Linked DNA regions of Homo sapiens: all the other regions are linked to region 3. The links are contacts of gene promoters, found by promoter capture Hi-C in human tissues and cell types (Jung and others, 2019). All regions are on one chromosome and are shown on one strand. Each heading gives the region's core, a stretch centred on a gene start or on the middle of the fragment in contact. The rest is flanking DNA. Distances are from core to core; before and after follow the strand shown. Region 1 has its middle 11 kb from the start of PNPLA1. Region 2 overlaps BNIP5 (BCL2 interacting protein 5). Region 3 holds the start of MAPK13 (mitogen-activated protein kinase 13).

Region 1 (3,317 bases), core at 436-2,935, 130 kb before region 3:
ATTTTTATATTTTAGGGACAGGGTCATACTCTGTCACCCAGGCTGGAGTGCAGTGATGTGTCATAGCTCACTGCAGCCTTAAACTCTTGGGCTCAAGCAATCCTCCTGCTTCAGCCTCCTAGTAGCTAGGACTACAGGCACACAACACAACACCTGCTTATTTTTAATTTTTTGTAGAGATGGGGTCTCACTGTGTTGCCCAGGCTGGTCTCAAACTCCTGGCCTCAAGTGATCCTCCCTCCTCAGCCTCCCAAAGTGCTGGGATTATAGGTATGAGCCTGGCCTCAATGGTCTTTCATTTCTTAAAAAAAAAATTTCAACTTTTATTTTAGATTTAGGTAGTACATATGCAGATTTGTTACCTGGGTACATTTTGTGATGCTGAGGTTTGGGGTACAACTGATCCTGTCACCCAGGTACTAAGCATAGTACTCAATAGTTTTTGAACTCTTGCCCTCCTCCCTCCCTCCCTAGTAGATCCCAGTGTCTACTGTTGCATCTTTATGTGCTTGAGTACCCACTGTTTAGCTCCCACTTATAAGTGAGAACATGCGGTATCTGGTTTTCTGTTCCTGAGTTAATTTGTGTAGGATAATGGCCTCTGGCAACATCCATGTTGCTGCAAAGGATGATTTCATTCTTTTTTATGGCTGTATAGTATTAATGTTCATTCTTATTAGGTTCTCACAGTGTTTTTTTTTTCTCCTGAAAAGCTTTTACTAAATCGATGTTGGATCTTGAAACTGATAGTATTTTATAATCAAGGAGATACAGTACATAAAAATGTGGGTGTGTGGAGAGGGACTGTACAGTGAAAACCATTGTGTGGTGGGATTGCGGGGATCTTTCTTTTTCAAAATAGTCTTTACTAGTATATTTACTTCACCTTTTCAGTATTTTTTTTCTTTAAACACAGTTTTAACTGCTTGCAGCAGATAATCGATGGTTTTGGAGGAGTTCCCCAGATAACCTGCAAAGCAATAACCCCATGAAAGTCACCAACTCCTCAGCTTAGTTTAGCTTAAATATAACTGACAAAGCCCTGAGCCCTAAATTTAGCTGTGGTTCCAAGGAAAGACCCTTTGTCTTTGGATTTTTCATGAGAAATCCACCTTCTAGGAACAGGTTGTGCAAAACTGAGATAATACTCCCTTGGTCACTAGGAGGGTCTGTTCCAGCAATTGGTTCAGACCTCAAGTTTTGGTCTGAACCATTGCTGTGGTTCACAACACAATGATGAGTTGGAAATGGTGATACAACCCAGAACCTGCTGGCCAGACTGCCATAGTGGGGCAGCACACTGAGCATTGTGACCAAAGGGTGGCCTTGAAACCCTGCTGCTTCCAGAAATTCAGACCAGTCCTGACAAATCTCTGTGGATAAAGGACTTCTAAATCAAATAAATACATTTAAGGAATATTGCAGGTGAGATTGGGATAAGCACTTGGAGAGCGACAATGCAAACCTTCATATTAAAGGCACTGAAAAGTTCTGTGTAGCAAGTTTTATTGGATTCTGGTCCCTTTCTTCCTGACTAAACAAATCCTAATTCTGTTTACCTTCTTCAGGGCAGCCAAGCCCTTCAGGACAAGAAGACCCCAGAACAAAGGAGTTTAAGAAAGAGCAGATGAAAACAATTCTGGTCCATAAGATAGAGAATAAACCTGCTGGGGAATTCTGAGAAAGATGTCTTTGCTCTTTAAAAAGACACTAACAAAAATTTTGCATTCAGTAGTGGCTGAGTACCTCCCATAGGACCACAAACCTCCCACATGACAAAATTATAAAAAACAACTATGAAAACTCTGGAGAGTGATCAAAAGGCATGGATATTGGAGGGGAGACAATACTTGGAAGAAGGGAATAGCAATGGATTTTTTAAAAAATTTTTTGTAGTTTGTTTGCTGAGGGAAGCCCCTAGTCAGGGATGTGTGGGGTGGTTAAAACTAGGATGTAAAGCTCACGCTTGTACTGGCGTGAAAAACCAGAGGACAGAGCTCTGGTGACTACACAGCTGGAAAGTGAGGAAGGAAATCCTGGAAAGGAGAAGAAGCCATAAATGAGTAGCCTCAAATTCTGTGTATAGACTCTGCTCAAATCTCTGAACCCCACATGTGCAGGACAGACTCCAAGCTGCATGGCTAAGGCTAAATTATCTAAACTAAGATTTCAGCTCCCAGCCAGATGCAGTGGCTCACACCTGTAATCCAGGCAGTTTGGGAGGCTGAGGCGGGAGGATTGCTTGATACCAGGAGTTCTAGACCAGCCTGGGCAATGTAGCAAAACCTCATCTCTACAAAAATAAAAATAAAATAAAGATTTCAGCTCCTATTCATCAGAGGGAAGAGCATTTTCAGTTTGAGAGTTCGGCCAATTTAACGGCTAGCTAAAACAAATAAACACAAACAGTAATACTTTTCAGAAGAACAAAAGAAATCCAGAGTTCCTACACTGTACACTCGCAATATTCAGGAGACAGTTCAAAGATGCTTGACATTAGAAGCAGGAAAATGTGACCCATACAAAAGAGAAAAAGGAATCAATGGAGACCAACCTTGAGACAACTCAGATGTAAAAACTAACAGACAAGAATTTTAAAGCAGCTATTATAACCATTTTCAAGAATGTAAATGAGAATATGCTCATAATGAATGAAAAGAAGGGAAACCTCAGCAGATAAACAAAAACTGTAAAAAGACCTCAGTGGGAATTCTAGCACTGAAAAATACAACATCTGAAAGAAAAAGACAAACAAGCAATAACCCATTTTTTTGCCTTTGGCCATCATCAGGATGTGATGTTTATTTTGCCACAGTCAACTTCTGGTCATAAGGATAGCCATCCTGAGGACAAGGCCTATGTGCTGTGCCATCTATGGCAGAGCAAGAAGACAGAAGGAATGTGGGTCTTTAATCATGTCTCTGAGCCGCTGGACTAATTAGAATTTCCCTGATGCCAAATGTCTTGTACTGGGAGAAAAATAAAATATCCTTATTTAAGCAATTTCTGTTTGGATTTTATGTTACTAACATGAGAAAGAAAGCGTTGTTGGGGCTCAGAAAATGATACCCTAAAATATGCTGTTTTGGACTTCAAACTGAGAGTACCTGGGGAGCAGCAAATGCAGGGAAGGGTTTTCTCTGAAGTTCTCCACCCAGAAGCTTCTCTGGAAGATATTAAATTGTTGTGAATCCCCTCCCCACATATTTCACCTACTGGAGGAAACTGATGCATATTGCAAAAAGGAAGACTAGAGTTGACACCACACCCAGATCCCAGGCAAAATTTGTCCCAGGCTATTGTCTGTTCTTCAGAAC
Region 2 (2,885 bases), core at 346-2,845, 190 kb before region 3:
GGGGGGCTGCAGATGTTTCCAGTCCAGAGGCCTGGCCACCCAAGAAGTCCAGCTTTCTGCCCCTGTGTGTCAGCGGCCATCGGCCTTCCATCTCCAGCAGCTATGGTGAGCAGGCTCTGCAGTTGCCATAGCAACCCTGCAGCTGCCTCCAGCTCTGGAACCTTCCCTGGGGATGGAATTGACCATTTTAAAGGTTGCGTTGTGCCTGGTCTGACTTTTGCACTCTGCCCTGAGTGGTGTGAGGATGACTGTGGGAAGACAGAAAGAATGCCAGCAGGTCACCTCCACACACAACACCTCAGCGAGCTCTAGGCAACCCCAATAAGCCCTTGATGGAAATTATGTTCCGGGATTTCCCAACCGTCAACATTTCTTGGCCGCCTCAACTTCTGCACCCTGGCAGGGAGGGGAGTAGTGTGTGCAAGAAGGAGCTGGAGCAGGGGAGGCAGGAGACCTGGGTTCTAGCATATTGTCTATGTCATTCCCCATCTTTGTGCCTCAATTTCTTCACCTGTAAAGTGAGACATTTCCCTGCTGCATATCTATAACACGATCAGTCCTCACAGCCATCAGATGAAGTGCAACTATTATCCCCACAGCCATCACATGGAGTACAACTATTATCCCCACCTTACAGATGAAGGACCTGAGGCTTTGGGAGGTAAAACAATGTGTTCAAGGCCACATGGCCCATGGATGATGGGGCCAGAGCTAGAGGCGGAAAGGATCAGACAAGTCATTTCTTCCTGGGCATCAGGGAGAACAGGTCATCCTGTTAGGTCATCCTGGCCAGGAGAATTTACATCTTAGAAAGGAGGGAGTGACGCTTAACACCAAAGAGGGGAATTTCAGGCCCATGGGGAGATATTTTCATGCAGGGGGATTCTGGCTATGATTCATTAATTCATGCCATGGGACCAGGCCTCTACTCTTCAACTTGTGGATCAAGTCAAAATGGTGGAGGGAGGAGAGGGCAGCAAAGCCCAGGAAAGCCAGTTCTATGGAAGCACAAAGGGATAAGGGAACTCGGTCTGGGCCAGTAAATCAGAGGCACAGCCCTGCCCAGCAGCTGTCTTCCAGCCCCATAAGTCCTTAATGTGATCCAGCCACGGAGCCCACTTTTAGTTTGTGCTAGCTTCTGTGCATAGTTAACAGCCCCAGACAGACAAAACACACCCTCGTTCTCCTTCTGCTTCTCAGGCTTGGAAGAACCTAAAGTCCAGGAGGCCCCATCTACAGAGGCTGGGGCTCCAGGTCCCTCCGTGCTTCCCACCCCATCAGAGAGCCAGGAACCTGGAGAGGAGCTTCCGCTGGACAGAGCCTCGGAATACAGTCAGTACTCCTCTCTTTTTCTCAGACACCCCTTGCAAAACTTCTGTTCTGACTCCCCCACTTGCAAAGAGACACTGAGCCAGAGAGAGGCAGTGACCTGTCCAGACCTCCCTCTGAGTACAGCAGGCTGGGGAGGCAGCTTGGGGCCCAGAGCCCAGGCCCAAGCCAGGCTGCCTGTCTGAACCTCGATAAATGGCGATAGTGTTGGTGCTTACCCTGATGAGGCAGACAGGAGGCAAAGGGAGGAAAGTGCTGGCCCACACCAAGGGCTCGGCCAATGGGGTGATCTTATGGACCTTGGTTTGAGTCTGGGCTGTGACCCCTTTGAGCTGTGTGGACTTGGGCAAGTTACTTCATCTCTGGTCTCAGTTTCTTCATCTGTGAAATGGGGGCAGCAAGTACCTGCTTTCTAGAATTGTCGGCAGCATTTAGGGCAGCCCCTGTTAGTGGCTAATATGTGTTAGGTGCCATTTGTTGCTATTATTGTCATTGTTGGGTGGCCCAGCTTGAGAGCAGAGCTCAGAAGTAAAAAGGATAGGGACAGGGGTAGGGGCCTTGGGAGGGAAGCTCAGCTAATGGCAGCTGCCATCGCTGTAATTATTATTTTACCATTGGCAGAGCCAGGCCTAGAAACATATATATATATATATATATATATATATATATATATATATATATATATATATATATATATATATATATATATAATATCACCGTCAGGTCTGAAAAGACCTGGAAAGATCTCTGCCCCCTATCCCCTGCCATTCTGCCTTGTTTGCTTTTCATAGAAAATATGCCTTGAAGGGAAATTCTGCCTGGACAGGGAGAAGGTGCAGGATGAGGGCACCTGTAGGGAATGGGCCTTTCCAGATGGCCCTGAGGGGCCTCCTCCTGGGTGTCTATTTAGAGGCCGTCATTGGTAAAGTGAATATGTATCCCATGAAACCAGCTCTGCCCTCAGGCCACCTCTGGCAGCTCTTTAGCCCCCTTGGAGAATCACCCAGGGAGCCACCGGGGCATTAGGAAATGAAGACTGACCGCAGAAGAGATTTCGTAGCACCAAAGTTAACCATGCGTGTTGATCTTTTTCAGAAGAATTCATTCAGAAGATCATTTCCATGCTCCAAGATGCAGAAGAACAGCAAGGAGAGGAGGTGAGGAAGACGCTCCCCATGTAACCCTGACCTCACTGTGGGCTCCCCAACCCTGCCTGGTGTAACAACTTCCCTGTCTCTGCTGCTCTTCTGTGTCCTGCTCCAGTCCCTCCTTTTTTTTTTTTTTTGGAGACGGAGTCTTGCTCTGTCGCCCAGGCTAAAGCACAGTGGCTCGATCATGGCCCACTACAACCTCCACCTCCTGGGCTCCAGCGATTCTCCTGCCTCAGCCTCCTGAGTAGCTGGGACTACAGGCATGCGCCACCACACCCGGCTAATTTTTGTATTTTCAGTAGAGACAGGGTTTTACCATATTGGCCAGGCTGGTCTCGAACTCCTGACCCCTGGTGATCCACCTGCCTCAGCCTCCCAAAGTACTTGGATTATAGGTGTAAGCCA
Region 3 (3,061 bases), core at 514-3,013:
AAGGGAAAAAGGAGGGAACAGAGAAGGAGCTTTTCAGCCAGCAAACTCCCTGCCCCTGACCTTGGGTCTCCAGCCACATCCATCCTTGCCTGCCACAGGGCTGGTTCAGAGCCAAGGGCAAGATCACCCTGGCTGGAGGCCATAGGGGAGGGGTTTGCTGGAGAAGGATGGGCTTAAAATGTACATAACATTTTGAAATCATTCTTTGAAATGTCTGCCCTCCAATCTAGGTATCCTGCAGCAAAGCCTGGCTGCCAGGCCCTGAGCTGGGCCCCTGGTTTTCCCAGCTGCTTCTATCAGACAAGACAATCTGATGGTCATGTGCTCAGACCGGGAGCCTCGCTGCCGAGATTGAAACCCCAGCTCTGCTACTGACTAACCATCTAATCTGTGAGCCTTGCTGTGCTTTAGTTTCCTGTCTGTGACATGGGGGCAGTAGTACTCATATATCATGAGGACTAGACAAGTTAGTGTATGCAGAGCTCTTAGAACATAGGAAGTGCTCAATATGTGTATATTGCTATTGTTATCAGGGTCACGTGGACACAACGCTAACTAGGATTCTAGTCCCAGCTGGCCACAAGCTCTCAGACATGGAACCAATTACAAAGTTCCCCTGTGCCAATTTCCTCTGTAGGATAACACAGTCTGTACCTCACAAAGTGCATTCTGCCAAAAATACCCTTTGACCTCTTCCTGGAAAGTGGGCAGGGAAGGTCTCGGCACCCCCTCCTTTCAATAGTGAGGCGAGAGGCACCGTCAGGGGAGCAGGGAGGAGACTGTCCCGAGCTCTCCATACCGGGAGGCCCCGCCTGCGCCTGCCCCTGACTCCCCAGGGCAGCCCCCACCCCCTCCCCGGGGCAGCCACCACCTACGTTCTCATGCTGCATGTGCTTCAGCAGCAGCAGCTCCCGGTAGGCGCGCTTGGCGAAGATCTCGGACTGAAAGGGTCGGCTCAGCTTCTTGATGGCCACCTTCTCCCCTGACCGCTTGTCGATGGCCGAGCTGTCGGGCACAGGCCGGTCAGCAGGCGAGGCTCTCCTCCTGGGCCGTATCTCCCAGACCGCCCTGACCCCTCCCACTGGGCAGCTGGGCTGAGAGGGGACTAGGCCCACCACCTAGAATATGGGGGAGCCGCGGGACGCAGGGCAGGGAGTAGGAAGCCAGGCAGGAGCTGAGAGAGGGGCACAGCGCCAGGGGCAGCAACGTCTCATTGCGACGGGATCCACGGCAGGGCGGGAGTCTCACTCTGTCTGCAACTTGGCGAGCCACCTCCCCCTCTTGGGGCCTCGGTGTACTCGTCTGTAACAGTGAGGATCTGCCCGATGAACTCTGGGGTCTTGCAAGTGTACAGTCCTGGAGAACCAGGCCCAGTCCCAACTCAACCCCCAGAGACCTCACTCAGCCACTCGGTGAGAAAAGGGAGATGGCCGCTGGGTGGCCCCGGGGAGGGCGCTGGGCCTTGAGGTCCGCGGTCAAGGTGGCGCTGGCGAGGGGCCAGCCCAGGGCGGGCTGGGCGGAAAGGGGAGAGCCTGGCGCCCGCCCCCCGCCCCCCAGCGGCCCAGGGGTCTCACCACACGGAGCCATAGGCCCCGCTGCCGACGTGCGTCGGGGACACGTAGGTCTTGGGCAGCTCCCAGGCTGTCTTGTTGACGTCCTGCTTGTAGAAGCCCTTTTTCCGGATGAGGCTCATCCCGGGCACCCGATCTCGGCGGCCCCAGCGTGGCGGCTGCGTTCGCGGCCCAACGGGCTCCCAGCGCCCCGACCCCCGCTGCGCCCGCCCCGCGCCGCCCGCTCCTCCCCCGCGCGAGGGCGGGGGCCCCGGGCTGCTACGCTCCCACCTGCCGGCTCGCCCAGGTGCGCCGGGGCCGCCACGCCCGGGCCTGTCCAGCCCTGCGCTCCCGCGCTTCCGCCCGGCCCGACGGAGCCACTGCGGCAGGTGCGGCCCAGGCACGGGGTCGGGGCTGCCCAGCGGGACCCCGGTGCCTCCCAGCCGAGCGCGGGCCAGCGGCGGGGCTGGTGGGTCCAAGCAGGAGCGGGGAGGCAGTGCTTCCCAGTTCCCTCCAGCCCCGGTCTCCGTAGGAAGAGCTCCCTGTGACTGTGAACACACAGGAAAGCAGAACAAAACCCCACAACCTCTTCATTATGGAAAATGTCAAACATGCAGGAAAGAATTGAACAGAGTAAGCCAGCGCTTCTCACACTTCAGTGTGCTCAGGAATCCCCTGGGCATTTTATTTGATTAAAATACAGATCCTGACTCAGTAGGTTTGGGGTGGAGCCGAGATTCTGCATTTCTAGCCAGCTCCCAGGTCTGAGGCTTCTGAACCACATCTGATAGGAGGTTCTAATGAACCCCCGTGACCCCAATTCCCCAGCAACCACAACTCATAATCAATTTTATTTCATCCACATTCCTCTCCCACCATCGTTTTGAAGCAAAACCCAGGCGTCATATCATTTTATTCATAAATATTTTTGTATCTCTAAAACGTAAGGATTTTTAAAAGTACGTATCCACAATACTATATATATATATTTTTTGAGACTCTGTCGGAGTGCAGTTGCCATCTCGGCTCACTGCAACCTCCGCCTCCCGGGTTCAAGCAATTCTCTGCCTCCGCCTCCCGATTAGCTAGGATTGTAGGTGCCTGCCACCAAACCCGGCTAATTTTTGTATTTTTAATAGAGATGGGGTTTCACCATCTTGGCCAGGCTGGTCTTGAACTCCTGACCTCGTGAACCACCCGCCTCGGCCTCCGAAAGTGTTGGGATTACAGGCGTGAGCCACCGCGCCTGGCCCACAATACATTCTTAAACCTAAAATTAATAGCACTAATTCTATAATACCAAATATCCACGCAGGTTCAAATGTGCAGGATTTTTGTTTGTTTTTGACATGGAGTCTCACTCTATTGCCTAGGCTGGAGTGCAGTGGCGCCATCTCAGCTCACTGCAACCTCCGCCTCCCAGGTTCAAGCAATTCTCTTGCCTCAGCCTCCTGAGTAGCTGGGACTACAGGTGCACACCACCACTCCTAGCTAATTTTTGTATTTTTAGT

What was found. The method cuts DNA at HindIII sites, captures the fragments that hold promoters and counts their contacts. A contact is called where the count stands out against the background at its distance.
Region 1: a fragment that was not itself captured here is called in contact with the fragment with the promoter of MAPK13 in region 3 in 1 of the 25 tissues and cell types used here (mesenchymal stem cells).
Region 2: a fragment that was not itself captured here is called in contact with the fragment with the promoter of MAPK13 in region 3 in 1 of the 25 tissues and cell types used here (adrenal gland).

The regions. Positions count from the first base shown.
Region 1 is chr6:36,256,986-36,260,302 of GRCh38, reverse strand. It overlaps a transcript of PNPLA1 not described here. Among named protein-coding and RNA genes, the nearest start is that of PNPLA1, 11 kb to the left of the region's middle. The HindIII fragment of the contact is 3,475 bases long and covers 1-3,317 here.
Region 2 is chr6:36,323,730-36,326,614 of GRCh38, reverse strand. It overlaps BNIP5 (BCL2 interacting protein 5), which reads left to right. Exons shown (of 12, transcript NM_001010903.5): 5 at 1-105; 6 at 1,201-1,332; 7 at 2,425-2,486. Among named protein-coding and RNA genes, the nearest start is that of BNIP5, 12 kb to the left of the region's middle. The HindIII fragment of the contact is 8,343 bases long and covers 1-2,885 here.
Region 3 is chr6:36,129,215-36,132,275 of GRCh38, reverse strand. It overlaps MAPK13 (mitogen-activated protein kinase 13), which reads right to left and starts at 1,763. Exons shown (of 12, transcript NM_002754.5): 1 at 1,575-1,763; 2 at 876-1,005. The coding sequence starts at 1,693. RefSeq lists enhancers at 38-287, 998-1,117, 1,009-1,612 and silencers at 758-867, 1,508-1,577, 1,618-1,867. The HindIII fragment of the contact is 28,110 bases long and covers 1-3,061 here.